Linked DNA regions of Homo sapiens: region 2 is linked to region 1. Evidence: promoter capture Hi-C in human tissues and cell types (Jung and others, 2019). All regions are on one chromosome and are shown on one strand. The core of a region is centred on a gene start or on the middle of the fragment in contact, and the rest is flanking DNA. Distances in the headings are between cores, read along the strand shown.

Evidence for each region. Contacts are between HindIII fragments. The study calls those that stand out against the background at their distance.
Region 2: a fragment that was not itself captured here is called in contact with the fragment with the promoter of SLC38A7 in region 1 in 6 of the 25 tissues and cell types used here (H1 embryonic stem cells, bladder, hippocampus and 3 more).

Annotation. Positions count from the first base shown.
Region 1 is chr16:58,681,738-58,689,637 of GRCh38, reverse strand. SLC38A7 (solute carrier family 38 member 7) reads left to right here and starts at 4,868. Exons shown (of 12, transcript NM_018231.3): 1 at 4,868-4,921; 2 at 5,460-5,683. RefSeq lists enhancers at 5,082-5,141, 4,652-5,496. The HindIII fragment of the contact is 12,070 bases long and covers 1-7,727 here.
Region 2 is chr16:58,534,035-58,541,934 of GRCh38, reverse strand. CNOT1 (CCR4-NOT transcription complex subunit 1) reads left to right here. Exons shown (of 49, transcript NM_016284.5): 34 at 315-434; 35 at 1,976-2,167; 36 at 3,021-3,163; 37 at 3,669-3,777; 38 at 3,875-4,044; 39 at 4,715-4,946; 40 at 7,540-7,788. Among named protein-coding and RNA genes, the nearest start is that of SNORA46, 11 kb to the left of the region's middle. The HindIII fragment of the contact is 7,254 bases long and covers 1-5,521 here.

The DNA.
Region 1 (7,900 bases), core at 3,619-6,118:
TTCATTCAACATTGTACTGGAGGTTCTGGTACAGTCAAGGCTAGAAAATAAAAGGAATCCAGATTAGAAAGGAAGATATAAAATTATCTCTATTTACAGGTTTTATAATCTTATGTTGAAGATTCCACTAATAAAACTATTAGAGCTAGTAAATAAGTTCAACAGAATTGTAGGGTGTAAGATCAATATACAAAACAGTTGTAGGAGTAGCACAGTGTCTCACACCTGTATTCCTAGCACTTTGGGAGGCTGAGGTGGAAGGATTGCCTGAGCCCAGGAATTCAAGACTAGCCTGGACAACACAGCAAGACCCTGTCTTTGCAAAAAATTTAAAAATTAGCTGGACATGGTGGCACACATCTGCAGTCCTGGCTACTTGGGAGACTGAGGTGGGAGGATCACTTGAGCCCAGGATTTTGTGCTGAGCAGCAGCCTGGGCAACAGAGCAAGGCCCTGTCTCTAAAATGATAATAATAATAATAACAAAATACTTTTTTTTTCTGAGACAGAGTCTTGCTCTGTCACCCAGGCTAGGGTGCAGTGGTGCAATCTCGGCTTACTGCAACCTCCACCTCCCAGGTTCAAGCAGTTCTCCTACCTCAGCCTCCCGACTAGCTGGGACTACAGGCGCATGCCACCACACCTGGCTAATTTTTTTGTATTTTTAGTAGAGACAGGGTTTCACCGTGTTAGCCAGGATGGTCTAGATCCCCTGACATCGTGATCCACCCGCCTCAGCCTCCCAAAGTGCTGGGATTACAGGCGTGAGCCACCGCACCCGGCCAATAAAATAATTTTTAAAAGGTTAAACATAGAGTTACCATCTGATCCATCAATTCCACTTCTACATGTATACCCAAGAGAAATGAAAACATATGTCCACACAAAAACTAGTCCATGAGGGAGGCCGAGGTAGGCGGATCACCCAAGGTCAGGAGCTCGATACCAGCCTGGCCAACATGATGAAACCCCATTTCTACTAAAAATACAAAATTAGTTGGGCGTGGGGGTGGGCACCTGTAATCCCAGCTACTCGGGAGGCTGAGGCAGGAGAATCGCTTGAACCCAGGAGGCAGAGGTTACAGTGAGCCAAGATCATGCCATTGCACTCCAACCTGGGCAAAAAGAGCGAAATTCCATCTCAAATAAAACAACCTTGTACATGAATGTTCACAGCACCATTATTCACAGTAGCCAAAAAGAAAAAATAACACAAATATCAACTACTGAACAGATAAAAAAATGTGGTGTAATGAGAAAAACACTGAATTGTACGAAAAACCTTCCCCCAAACTTGGAGGCAGTTGAGAGACCAGAGAATGACTCAGGCAAGTCCAGCTTGGCGAGTAGATGAGTTTGAGGACTTACATACGGGACACTCCTTGACAGCAGCAGGACAGTGCTAGAGATCCGCGCCACCTCCCATCTCTAAGCCATTTTTAAGCTAATTTTCTAGCTCTTTGCCTACTGCGTGTATGCAGTGGGACTGTTTTCCTTGGTAGATTCTCAGATCCTCTCCAGGATGTTTGAGTTCTCAGGAATATCTGCTCCTAGGCTGGGCACCATGGCCTTGGCTCACCACCCAGCATTCAGGATTCAAGCAGTGGATATACACCTCCAAGTAACCTGATGGGGGACCTGCCACACTACATGTGGTATAGCCATACAACAGAACATTATTCAGCAATAAAAATGAATGAAATACTGGTTCATGTTCCAACTAGGATGAGCACTGAAAACAGTATGCTCAGTGAAAGAAGCAGACAGAACAGGTCACATATTGTGTGACTCAATTTATATGAAAGGTCAAGAATAGGCAAACCCACAGAAGCAAAGAGTAGATTCAGAGTTGCCAGGGGCTTGGTGGAGGGGGAGATGGGAAGTGACTGCTAATGGGTTCAGGATTTTAGTAGGGGAGGGTGATCACAATATTCTGAAATTAGATAGTGGTCATCATTGCACAACTCTGAAGAAACTAAAATGCACCTTATTGGACTCTTTCAAAGGGTGGATTTTATGGCATACGAATATCTCAACAAAACTATTCTTATTTTTTAAATTTTTTTTTCCAAGGCAGAGTCTCACTCTGTTGCCCAAGTTGGAGTGCAGTGGCGCAATCTCGGCTCACTGCAGCCTCCACCTCCCAGGTTCAAGTGATTCTCGTGACTCAGCCTCCTGAGTAACAGGGATTACAGACATGCACCACCACACCCAGCTAATTTTTGTATTTTTAGTAGAGACAAGAGTTTCACCATGTTGGCCAGACTGGTCTCGAACTCCTGACCTCAAATGATCTGCCTGCCTCAGCCTCCCAAAGTACTGGGATTACAGGCATGAGCCACCATGCCTGGCCTCAATAAAGCTATGTTAAAAAAAAAAAGGCAGACAATTCAAATGTCCTTCAAAGAGTGATGGGTAAGTAAACTGTGGTACATACATACCACTGAATACTACTCAGCAATAAAACCTATCTGTGTTGACGTATATAGCTTAGATGAATCTCTTCTAGGGAATTTTACTGAGTTAAAAAAAAAAAGGCAATCTTAGAAAATTACAGACTGTGTGGTCTATGAACTGAATGTTTGTGTTCATCCCAAACTGATATGTGGAAACCCTAATCCCCAACGTGATAGTATTTGGAGACGTGCCTTTGGGAGGTAATTAGGTAATTAAAGCCCTCATGATGGGATTAGTACTATTTTTTTTTTTTTTGAGACAGAGTCTTACTCTGTCACCCAGGCTGGAATGCAGTGGCACGATCTCGGCTCACTGAAACCTCTGCCTCCTGGGTTCAAGCAATTCTCCTGCCTCAGCCTCCTGAGTAGCTGGATTACAGGCGCATGCCACCACACCCAGCTAATTTGTTTTGTATTTTTAGTAGAGATGGGGTTTCACCATGTTGGTCAGGCTGGTCTTGAACTCCTGACCTCATGATCTACCTGCCTCGGCCTCCCAAAGTGCTGGAATTACAGGCGTGAGCCACCACACCCAGCCGCAGGATTAGTTCACTTATAAGAAGAAACAAGACCAGGCATGGTGGCTCATGCCTGTAATCCAAGCACTTGGGGAGACTGAGACAGGAGGTTCACTTGAGCCCAGGAGTTTGAGGCCATTCTGGGCAACATAGGAAGACCTTGTCTCTATAAAAAATGAAAAGTTAGCTAGGCATGATGGCACGCATGCCTGTAGTCTCAACTATTTGGGAGGCTGAAGCGGGAGGACTAGTGGAGCCTGGGAGATGGCGACTGCAGTGAGCTGTGATTGCGCCACTGCCCTCCAGCCTGGGCAACAGAGACCGTGTCTCTAAAAATAATAATAATAATAAAATAAATAAAAATAAGAGAGAGTTTACTTTCCCTCTCTGCTTTCCGCAATGTGAGGACACAGCAGGAAGATGGCCATCTGAAAACTATGAAGATGGTCCTCCCCAGAACTTGACTCTGCTGGCATTCTGACCTCAGTCTTGACAGCTTCCAGGACGGTGAAAAATAAATCTCTGTCGTTTAAACCACCCAGTCTATGATACTCTGTTATAGCGGCCTTAACTGATTAAGACAGTATGATTCTATTTTTTTTTTTTTTTTTGAGACAGAGTCTCACTCTGTCTCCCAGGCTGGAGTGCAGTGGCACGATCTCTGCTCACCGCCACCTCCGCCCCCCGGGTTCAAGTGATTCTCCTGCCTCAGGCTCCCGAGTAGCTGGGACTACTGGCGTGCACCACCATGCCCAGCTAATTTTTGTATTTTTAATAGAGACAGGACTTCGCCATGTTGGCCAGGCTGGTCTCGAACTCCTGACCTCAAGTGATCAGCCCGCCTTGGCCTCCCAAAGTGCTGGGATTACAGGTGTGAGCCACCGCACTCAACCAGTATGATTCAATTTATATAAACTTTTTGGAGGCCAGGCACGGTGGCTCATGCCTGTAATCCCAGCACTTTGGGAGGCTGAGGTGGGTGGATCACTTGAGGTCAGGAGTTTGAGACCAACCTGGCCAACATGGCGAAACCCCATCTCTACTAAAAATACAAAAATTAGCTGGGAGTGGTGGTGCATGCCTGTAATCCCAGGTACTCGGGAGGCTGAGGCAGGAGAATCACATGAACCCGGGAGGCAGAGGTTGCAGTGAGCAAAGATCGTGCCACTGCACCCCAGCCGGGGAGACAGAGTGAGACTCTGTCTCAAAAAAAAAAAAAAAAAAAAAAAAAAAAAAGGTGTGATTTGGGTTTCTAAGGATTCCCAGTGTGTCCTCATCGGTGAGGACCTCTGATGCATGGAGAGGTAAGTGCAGTGGAGAGCATATCCACAAAACAGAGATGAGGCTATTGGGATGCTGGAGATTACGTGACAATTTATGAGTGACACACAGCCAAGAACAGAACCAGGACTGGATGCCCATTTCGTCATTCAACAAATATTTACTGAGCACCTACAATCCCTCAAAAACTGTTCTAGAGTCTAAACCGATGGGGTCGTAACCATGCCCCCAGCCCACTCCCTTGCAGGAAAGACCGTGGCTCCAGGTCCCCCACATTACTGATTAAAAAAAAACTCCAGTGCTCTGGCCATGGGCGTGAAGGCAAGGACAGAGACCGGGAGGATAATGAGGCCAAACAGCTTTGGCCCACCGCCACCGGGACTGGCAAAGAGGCCAGACCTCCTAATGCTCTTCCTTGGAGGAAGGAGCAGTGTTTGATTTGGTCAAGAGGCCAAGACTAAAAGTAAGAGGATAAACACGAGCTGGCTGGACGCGAGGCTGGCTCAGGGCAGTGCTGTCGGGCTGAGGATTCAGGGAGCTGGTGTTGTCCAAGCTTCACATTTGCGGAAACTACAACTCCCAGCGTGTCCCGCGGCCGCCCGAGCGGGCGTCATGTGATGCATGCTCACGTGTCTCCGCAGCCGGCTCGGGAAAGAATCCCCCAAGGTAGGTGGCCGGAGACAGGCTCTGGAGGGTGGAAGTGTTAGATCCCCGAGGTCTGTGGAGCCCCTCAGTCCCCGCCACCGCGGAAAAGCTCAGACCCTTTCCCTGCAGGGGTCCAGATCCTGGCGTCCTCGCCCCACGCCCGTCCCTCTGTTGCGCCAGCTCTGCCGCGCCTTTACCCAGCCAGAGGGTCTCCACCCAGTCCTAGGCCGGGATCGGGTCCCGGAGCTCCTCCCCAGGTTACCCCACAGTAGCCCACCCTTCTCGCTCCAGGCCTGGGAATCGCCCCGCCCCGGCCTCCTGGCCCGGGTGCGCCCTGGCTCACCTCACAAAGCCTCACCTCACAAAGCAGCCCACCCTTTCTATCTCAGGGCTCCAACCCCAGGCTGGACTGGGAGCACACTCCAGTTGGGATCTGAGGGGCCTACATCGCTGGCCTGAGCATGTGGGCATCAGGCTTCTATTCTGGCTCTGCCAGCTACCCACTGTGACCTTAGTCTAACCTCTCCCTCCTGGGCCTGTTTTCCTATCTGTCCTGAAGCTCCATTTCATGAGTAAGCGTGAGAGCCGCTCAGTTTCCTCCAGCTCTGCTGAAGCCAGCACAGAAGTAGCCCAAACTCTTCCCTCTGCTGACAGCAAATTTTAGGCAAAGTCTTGAGAAAGAAGAAATTGGGTCCAGAAAGGGAAGTGAGGAGAATCAGATCCCAGACCTTTGGGGAGAAGGAGCAACCGCCTCTGGCACAGCCCATCAGGGAGAAAGAGCAGGTAAGGTGCAACAATGAGCTGAGTAATTTGCCAGTGAGCAGTGGGGGTGCCGAGAGGTCTTAACCAAGGCAGAGAATCTGCAAGAGGTGGGACCCCCAGCTTCTGAGTTCCACGAGGACCCCAGCCTGCACTCTCATGTGGGTGGCAGGAGAGGCTGGAGGATGGTGCAGGACTCGGGCAGGGGTGCCCAAGGGAAACATTTTGGTTGGAGAGTCAGGAAGCCGCACCAAGCCTTGTGACCTTGGACGAATCACTCTGTAGACCTCTGTCTCTGTGACGTGAGCAGCGGGGAGGAGATGGTCACAGCTCTGGCAGTGGTCACTTTGCAGGGTTCTTTCTCTAGCTACACTGGAAGCCTGGGAGTCCCAAGACTCTGCCTTCGCTGCTCACTGCTTTGATTTTGCTGAGTTGCTGGTTGGGTGACAGGATGTGTAAGAGGATGTGTAAGCCCTGTGACATCTGACAGATCTTTCTGGGTTTCGAGCCAGCAGAGGAATGTTTCCTCTGGTGCCATGTCCCTTGGTTCCATGCTTGATAACAGATGGCTGAGAGCACATGAACTTTCACCCTTTCCCTCTCATGAGTGGATGGTCCCCAGCTTTGTTTGTCCATCATCAGGAGGAGCAATGGGAAGTAGTCCAAGGGGTCTTGTTAGTCATTTTAAACCCCCAGTGGGCTGAAGGCATCAGAGAGGGTGGCCCAATGGTTAGGGCAGTCATTATGGCTGAATATGCTCAGTTCCCTTTTTTTCCCTCTGGGCTATAAAGACTAAACCAGGCTGGGGGCTGTGGCTCACGCCTGTAATCCCAGCACTTTGGGAGGCCGAGGCAGCAGGATTGCTTGAGCCCAGGAGTTCAAGACCAGCCTGGGCAACATAGTGAGACCTCCTCATCTCTACAGAAAATTTAAACATGACAGGCGTGGGGGGCTTGTCACGTGGGAGAAGTCACATGGGAGAAGAGTTGAGAATTGGCCTGAATTTTGAAAGGCCAATTTTGTTCCCCACAGGAACAAAAAATTTAAAAAGTTGGCCAGGCGTGGTGGCTCACGCCTGTAATCCTAGCACTTTGGGAGGCCAAGGGGGATCACAAGGTCAGGAGTTCAAGACCAGCCTGGCCAACATGGCAAAACCCCATCTCTACTAAAAATACAAAAATTAGCCAGGCATGGTGGCGGGCACCTGTAATCCCAGCTACTCAGGAGGCTGAGGCAGGAAAGTCTCTTGAACCCGGGAGGCAGAGGTTGCAGTGAGCTGAGATTGTGCCATTGCACTCCAGCCTGGGTGACAAAGCAAGACTCCGTCTCAAAAAAAAAAAAAATTTTAAAAGTTAGCTGGCTGTGGTGGCACACACCTGTAGTCCCAGGTACTCGGGAAGTTGAGGTGGGAGGATTGCTTGAGCCTGGTAGATTGAGGCTGCAGTGAGCTCTGATTGCGCCACTGCACTCCAGCCTGGGCAACAGAGTGATACCCTGTCTCTAAATAAATAAAGACTAAACCAGGGAGGGAGTAGAGATTAAAATGGAGTTTTGTATGAGTACCGTGAAATCGGGACTCAGGAATGAGGAGACTCTAGGAGAAGGAGTCTTTGGCAGATTTCGCCAGCCTGGGTGGTAACCAGCTAATAGCAGCCTCTGGGGAAGACTGCCCTGGCTCCTCCCTGCCCCCTTAGTTCCTGCCCTTGAAATCTGGCCTTCTTCCTGCTCTTTCTCCCATTAGCTATCCCAGGGCCTCTGTGCCCATTGTTACCTGGCCAATAGCACCAGGCTGTGGTTTGAGTTTTGTTTGTTTGTTTGTTTTGAGATAGAGTCTCACTCTGTCGCCCAGACTGGAGTGCAGTGGCGTGATCTGGGCTCACTGCAAACTCTGTCTCCTAATTTCGGGCGATTCTCCTGCCTCAGCCTCCTGCACAGCTGGGATTACAGGGGTGCACCACCACACCTGGCTAATTTTTGTATTTTTAGTAGAGATGGGGTTTCACCATGTTGGCCAGGCTGGTCTCAAACTCCTGACCCCAGGTGATCTGCCCACCTCGACCTCTCAAAGTGCTGGAATTACAGATGTGAGCCACCACACCCGGCCCAGGCTCTGGTTTTGATCAGTGTTCTGCTCCCTGCTTGCTTAGGGCTGGAGAGTCTCAGGCATGGTGGTGGTGGGCAACATGGGAAGGGGCATCTGCAGAAATAACAGCAGCAGTGACCATTTATTGAGTCTTAAAC
Region 2 (7,900 bases), core at 645-3,144, 140 kb after region 1:
CAGTGAGACAGTGAGAAATCTGATAATATTTACCAGCTTCAAGGGAGAATTGCACTGGCATCGTCCCATGTGAGGCATTTTCCAAGAGAAACTCTCAGTTAATTTATAAATGAGGTGACTCTTAGCAGGATTCAGGGAAATGAGAAGCCCTCTTCTGAACTGCATTTGTGTGTGCGTGCATGCTTAATCATGCTGTTATATGTTGTAATGACTCTTGTGTCCCTGAGCTTACCCACATGCAGACTTTCCACTTTCAAAACAGTTTATTTTGATTATTGAGTGAATTCTGTCAAAATAGGTTTTCTTCTTTCAAGGTTGGTGGTGTGGACCCAAAGCAGTTGGCTGTTTACGAAGAGTTTGCACGCAATGTTCCTGGCTTCTTACCTACAAATGACTTAAGTCAGCCCACGGGATTTTTAGCCCAGCCCATGAAGGTAAATGTGTTTTAGATTAAATTGAGTGTTTTGCCAATTAATTTAAATGTTTTTGACATTTAATATATGTTTTTGACTTGCTTCCTGGGAGAATAATTTACAGGGGAAAAAACACCTATAGTTTTTGAGTTGTAGGTATTCTTTGTGTCCAATTAAGTATGACATACAGGGGATTAAAGAAAAATTGACATGGGTGTGGGTGATTTAACTTTAATGTTCGGCCTAATTAGGGGAATTCTCATGGTAACATAATAACTTTCGGTTTTTTATTTTTAAATTTTATTATTTATTTTTTTGAGACAGGGTCTTTCTCTGTCACCCAGGCTGGAGTGCAGTGGCGCGATCTCAGCTCATTGCAACCTCCACCTCCCAGACTCAAGCGATCCTCCCACCTCAGCCTCCTGAGGAGCTAGGACTACAGGCGTGTGCCACCATGCTCAGCTAATTTTTGTATTTTTTGTAAAGATGGGGTTTTGCCATGTTGCCTAGACTAGACTCAAACTGCTGACCTCAAGTGATCGCCTACCTTGGCCTCCCAAAGTGCTGGGATTACAGGCCTGAGCCATTGTGCCCAGCCTTCCCATTTTTTAAATAAAAGAATTTTCTAAAATTTTCAAAGGTGTTTACAGAAAACTTGGAAATATAGGGAAAAATATTTTCCCCCGAACCGGTCGATAGTAAGTTGCTGACCTGATACCCCCATCGCTCCTGAATCCTTTGGTTTGTATTTCTTACAAAACCTTTTTCCTTTGGTTTGTATTTCTTAAAAAACCCTTTTCCTGTGTGACCATGGTACAACCATTAAGGTCAGAAATGAATACTAATAACCTTACTCCATCTAATTCATAGACCTCACTCGAGTTTCACCATGTATCCCAATAATGTATAGTAAAAGACCTGTTTTAGAATCACACATTTCTTCAGTTGTCATATTTTTAAAGTCTCCCTCAGTTCTAGCTGGTGTAGGTAACTCAGTTTTTCCTCATCTTTCATGACCATAACACTTCTGAATATTATAGGCTAATTATTTTCTAAATGACTTGATTTGTTTGTCCAGTGTATTCTCATGACTAGGTTCAGGTAATGTGTTTTTAAAAATAGGAATAGCTCAGAAGTAATGCTGTATTCTTACTCTATCCTATCAGGCTTTGACAGTTGGACTGAGTACTGTATTTTTCATGGTTTGAAACACTTACTTTCTTAGGATATAGAGGGCTTAGTAGATGGTACAAGTGGTGCTGCCCTCAGTCTGTCTCATTGTTACTAATGCTCTCTTTTATCACTTGATTATGCTGCTGTCTGCCAGGTTTTCCTCTCTCAAATGAAACACCTCTTCCCTTATGCCTGCCTTGTACTGTGCCACTTGATGGTATTAATTCTGAATAGCTCAGGAAGAAGGAAAAGAAGAGGCCCTCCATGTTTGAATGTAAAAATAAGAAAAAGGGAGTAAACATACTAGTAGACCTCTATTTGATACATGTGTCAATAAAAAACCTTAACATTCTTTTGTCTCTTGTTGGTTGTTTCCTTCTGTAAAACAGCAAGCTTGGGCAACAGATGATGTAGCTCAGATTTATGATAAGTGTATTACAGAACTGGAGCAACATCTACATGCCATCCCACCAACTTTGGCCATGAACCCTCAAGCTCAGGCTCTTCGAAGTCTCTTGGAGGTTGTAGTTTTATCTCGAAACTCTCGGGATGCCATAGCTGCTCTTGGATTGCTCCAAAAGGTTGGTTCTTAAGCTATTACTTTTAGAAAATGCTAGGTGTGTAAACATTTATTGACCTGCACCACCATCTACATATTTATGCAGTTATGCTTAAGATTTCATAATATAAATCAAGTTCTGTAAGTAGGTGATTTTTTTTTTTTCCAACGTAGAATGTAGTCATGGCAGTTTTGAATGGTAAACTTGGAAATCTTCATTTTTTTTCTTAAAGATATTCTGGAAATGTGATTTGAAGAAACTTTAAAAGGTAGCCCTTTAGAGGGGTGTGTGTGTCTGTGTGTGTGTGTGTGTGTGTGTGTGTAAGAGACAGGGTCTCTCTCTGTCAGGCTTGAGTGCAGTGATGTGATCATGGGCTTAAGTGAACCTCCCACATCACCTTCTCGAGTAGCTGGTATTACAGGTGCTCACTGCCAAGCCAAGCTAATTTTTAATTTTTTTGTAGAGACAGGTCTTGCTTTGTTGTCCAGGTCGTTCTCAATCTCCTGGGCTCAAGTGGCCCTCCCTCCTGAGCCTCCCAAAGCGCTAGGATTATAGACATGAGCCACTGAGCCCAGCTGCCCTTTAGATTTTGAGGGACAAGTTGATCCAATAATTTGGATCAGGGTAGGTAGGGAGCCCTGGATTTTAACTACAGCAGAGCCTTTTATGACAATGAAGAGCACAGAATGAACTTAAATCAGATAGAATTTAGAGTGTGTGTGATAGGCAACTGAAAGGGATGTTTGGAGAGTGGAAAGGACAGGGAGGCTTTGGAAGGTATTTGGTACTTGGCATTGAGATTTGGTTTCTGGCTGTGATAGTTGGGCCAAGCACTGTATTTTTCATGGTTTTGAACGCTTTCTTTCTCCCATAGGCTGTAGAGGGCTTACTAGATGCCACAAGTGGTGCTGATGCTGACCTTCTGCTGCGCTACAGGGAATGCCACCTCTTGGTCCTAAAAGCTCTGCAGGATGGCCGGGCATATGGGTCTCCATGGTGCAACAAACAGATCACAAGGTCAGTAGCCATCTTCGAAAAGTAGTGAGTATTGGACTGCGACTGCCTTTTGACATAGATAGTACTGTTTATGTCCAGGGGTTTCCCTTTTTTCTAGTAGGTAGGTCGGACACTTAGACTTCCTACTTCTGAGAGGTGAGAATTGTTAAGTAGTTGTTTTCCATCTGGTCTCTACCTTCTCCCCATGTTGGATATAGAAAACCAGTACCTTGTTTTGGGGAATAAATTGTAGGTCATTGTTTTAAAAGGTTACAGTGATTTCTCAGAAGTGGTATTCGTGTATAAGTATTTTAATGTCTTAAATGGAATACTCTGTATCCTAGGATTTGAAAGGAAAGCTTGGGCTATCTGTTCTATTTCATTACTGGCTGTTTTTAAATTTGGACACTGATTTGGAGTTGAATCTCAAGGCATTCTTAGTTTGGAGCAAATTTCCATTGAGTAAAATGGGCCCTTTTACAGTATGGTTAAGCCTATATGAGTAAAGATATTGAACTTTTTCTAGGTGCCTAATTGAATGTCGAGATGAATATAAATATAATGTGGAGGCTGTGGAGCTGCTAATTCGCAATCATTTGGTTAATATGCAGCAGTATGATCTTCACCTAGCGCAGGTATGGAAGGAATTTACTTGCACGGACAAAAGGACTCAGGGAAGTACGTTTGCTCTTAAGTGTTTTCCCTCTCACATTATGTTTTCTGTGTTGCCAGTCAATGGAGAATGGCTTAAACTACATGGCTGTGGCATTTGCTATGCAGTTAGTAAAAATCCTGCTGGTGGATGAAAGGAGTGTTGCTCATGTTACTGAGGCAGATCTGTTCCACACCATTGAAACCCTCATGAGGATTAATGCTCATTCCAGAGGCAATGCTCCAGAAGGGTGAGGATGAAATGCTTTGAGATCCCTGTGCATTTAGTAGTCTTCTAATATCTTTAGGAATGAATATGCAGACTTACTAACATTACTTGTTATAACTGCTTTACCAACCACATATGGGTGGGTAGCTTTGGTAAGGGCTAATATTGTCACTTGAAGTATGAAAGCCTAATTGACTGCCAAGTCTTCTTGGCACAGAGCAGTACATACGGTACCAGACTTAGTGTCAGAGTCCTATGTTTAAGCCCTGGTCATGCCACTTAAAAGCTTTCTGATTTTAGGCAAATTGACTTATCCTCCTTAAACCTATTCTTTATAGAAAATGGAAATAATTTCTCAAAGAACTATTGGAAATCAAGAGAAGTAACGTAAAGAAAGCATGGTACATAGTAGGCAAACAGTGAATATTTGTCGACTCTGAACATCAGTTTCATTTAAATGAACACGTTTTTTGGGCAAGAAGTAGCTTAACTGAGGGCAGTTGTTTGTGTGTTGTATGCTCATGAGCAAGCGGATAAGAGACTAAGTATAGTTTTGTTTCAGTGTGGAAGTGGTAAAGCGAAGTGGTAAACCACTCTGGTGGTTGCTGTTAAATAAGCAAACTATACATGCGTATGTCTGTAAAATCACAACTACGAGGAGACTGATTTTCACCCTTTATTTATTGTGCTAGATTGCCCCAGCTGATGGAAGTAGTGCGATCCAACTATGAAGCAATGATTGATCGTGCTCATGGAGGCCCAAACTTTATGATGCATTCTGGGATCTCTCAAGCCTCAGAGTATGATGACCCTCCAGGCCTGAGGGAGAAGGCAGAGTATCTTCTGAGGGAATGGGTGAATCTCTACCATTCAGCAGCAGCTGGCCGCGACAGTACCAAAGCTTTCTCTGCATTTGTTGGACAGGTAGAGCTTTTGGAAAGAAAGGTGCTTTTTATTCAACATAAGTAGGGTGTGATGCCTCCAATATTAAAGCTCAGTATTGCGTACATGTGGTCAGACAGTTACCTCCATACTCATGCAAACCCAAACTGTCATCATTATATGGTTAAATTACAGCCTGTTTTCTCATGGTTGATCACTAAGCAGTAAAGGCAACATTCCCTCCCACCGTTGGTTCTGTATATTCCATTTCAGTTGTCACAGCTACAAAGTACAATGGGTCAGATAATGAATAATAAAACTACCAAATGTATTTTTACTAGCACTGATGGGACTGTGGGCTAATAAATATGTAAAATTCTCACAGTAGCCCACATTAAAAAAAAATGACAAAACAAAAATGCTTATTTAAATGGTAGAGTGTTTTATTGTATTTTCTAATTTAAATATCTACCTAAACGTAGTGACATGTTCCTTTGGAAAATACTTCCCAGTATTTTCATTAGATTTGATGCAAGTTGGACTTTGACTTAAAAGGGTTAGGAACAAAGCACCTAACTGAAAATCAAGTTTGGCAGGAATGTTTGTGAATAGGATGAACAGGAAAAATGTCGGAACCGAGCCATAGTACCATTTAGCATTCGTTTTTTATTATCACTGGTTGCTTTCAGCGACTGTGAGGGAATCAGACACAATAAGTCCATGTGTCCTAATTTATAATATAACTTGGCAAGAGTGGTACTTTTCCTGAATTGACCTTGGAATTTCCTTTATTAGAACTGTTGTAATTTTTTTTCAGGGTGAGTTGTCTGCTTATTTCTGCAGATTGACCATTATATTTCTTCAAACTGAACCCAAAACTTTTAGGTATATTGCTAAAGAAAGATTACAAATTAGGTCTCTTTTCAAATTAATGACAATTGAATGTGGAAGAACTGACTTCAATTCTAGAAGTTATTTGAAACTAGGTTTACTTTTCAGCCAGGTGCTGTGGCTCACGCCTGTAATCCCAGCACTTTGGGAGGCCGAGGCAGGCGGATCACGAGGTCAGGATATCGAGACCATCCTGGCTAACACAGTGAAACCCTGTCTCTACTAAAAATACAAAAAAATTAGCCGGGTGTGGTGGCGGGTGCCTGTAGTCCCAGCTACTCGGGAGGCTGAGGCAGAAGAATGGCGTGAACCCAGGAGATGAAGCTTACAGTGAGCCGAGATTGCACCACTGCACTCCAGCCTGGGCGACAGAGCGAGGCTCCGTCTCAAAAAAAATTAAAAAAAAAAAAGAAATTAGGTTTACTTTTCAAAATGAATGTTACTCAGTAAATCATACCGAGTATATTTCTCCCCTAAAAGAATCCAGGGAATTACAAAGCATACCCTACTGAAAAGCTATTACTGCATGTTTTATAGTCTGATTTATAATTTGAATGGAAGAAATTGGAATCCATTGGTCTTTCTGATCATTGCTATTTCGTGGGTATGGATGTGGCACCTGTCTCAGCCCTTCCTGCTGGCTTATTTGCTCTCATTTCATCTTTCTCTTGAAAAAGATAGTGTATTATACTTTTCTGTGCTGTTTTGTATCCTTTTGAAAATTCTTTCCTTCTTGCGCTCCTCCTTGACCATAGTACTCAGTCCTAATATTCCTCACTCTCTGTTAGTTTTACAGATACCAGTGTAGACAAAAAGTCCCTTTGCCATGCTGGCATTCTGTCCCAGCAGGGTACAGTATTATCGTAGTCCAACCAGTTCAGTTGTCTTTACTGCTTATCAGGAACAGTTAAGTTGTTTCAAAAATTTCAAGATAACCTTGAAGTTTTTTTTTTCGGAACTTGGTTTCTGTGTTTAGTAAGTAGTGAACTGTTCTTCCTCTGTAGCCTTAATGCATATTTTACTGTTGTCTTTTTTTGTTTGTTTGTTTAAAGGGTTGAGGGGAACTAGCCAAATAACATTCCCACTGTGCTTCACTTCTAGTTCATATGTCATATAGTTTCTAATTTTTCCTTTCTTTTAAATAAACTTGTGTTTCCCACATTATTTTAACTTAATGTAACATTTTATTACATTAAAATACCTAGATCAGATTTGTATTTCCATTTGGTACTTACCTGTTGTACAAATTATTGATTTTTCTGGGGGTAGCTTGTTGGAGTTTTAAAATCTTTGTTATTGGTTAATTCAGTTTGAGGAAATTATCTTCAAATCCTTCAGAAGTAAATTACCTTAAATTCTGTGAGAAAGTAAAATATGTGCAATTTAGTCTTCTCCTTGGAGTCCACAATGTCTTAACATGACTTACAGTTAACGAACAGTTTGTTTTATTTGCATGGTTAATTTTTCACATTATTTGGTGGGGACCTACTGTTCAAAATTGCCATGATAATCTGTCTGTCAGTTTCCATCTTCCCTGTTCTACATTAAACTTAAAACTGGAGGAATTCTGTCATGGCACCTTAATGGGAAAATAATTCTGATAATACATTTATTACAATGTAAGAATTAGAAATATGACAGTAGGAACAAATGAGAATATCTCTTAAGCCTGAAAATTAAAGGTATATGAAGTTTATTTGTGTGTGTTACCTCATTGTGTCTTTATTTTTTGTTCCTGTTGTAGATGCACCAGCAAGGAATACTGAAGACCGATGATCTCATAACAAGGTTCTTTCGTCTGTGTACTGAAATGTGTGTTGAAATCAGTTACCGTGCTCAGGCTGAGCAGCAGCACAATCCTGCTGCCAATCCCACCATGATCCGAGCCAAGTGCTATCACAACCTGGATGCCTTTGTTCGACTCATTGCACTGCTCGTGAAACACTCAGGGGAGGCCACCAACACTGTCACAAAGATTAATCTGCTGAACAAGGTCTGAAATCCTTTCTTGCCTTAGTCTTGGTCTACATCAGTGGGGTGTTTTATTTATTTATTTATTATTATTATTTTTTATATTGTTTCTTTGAGAGAGTCTCACTCTGTCA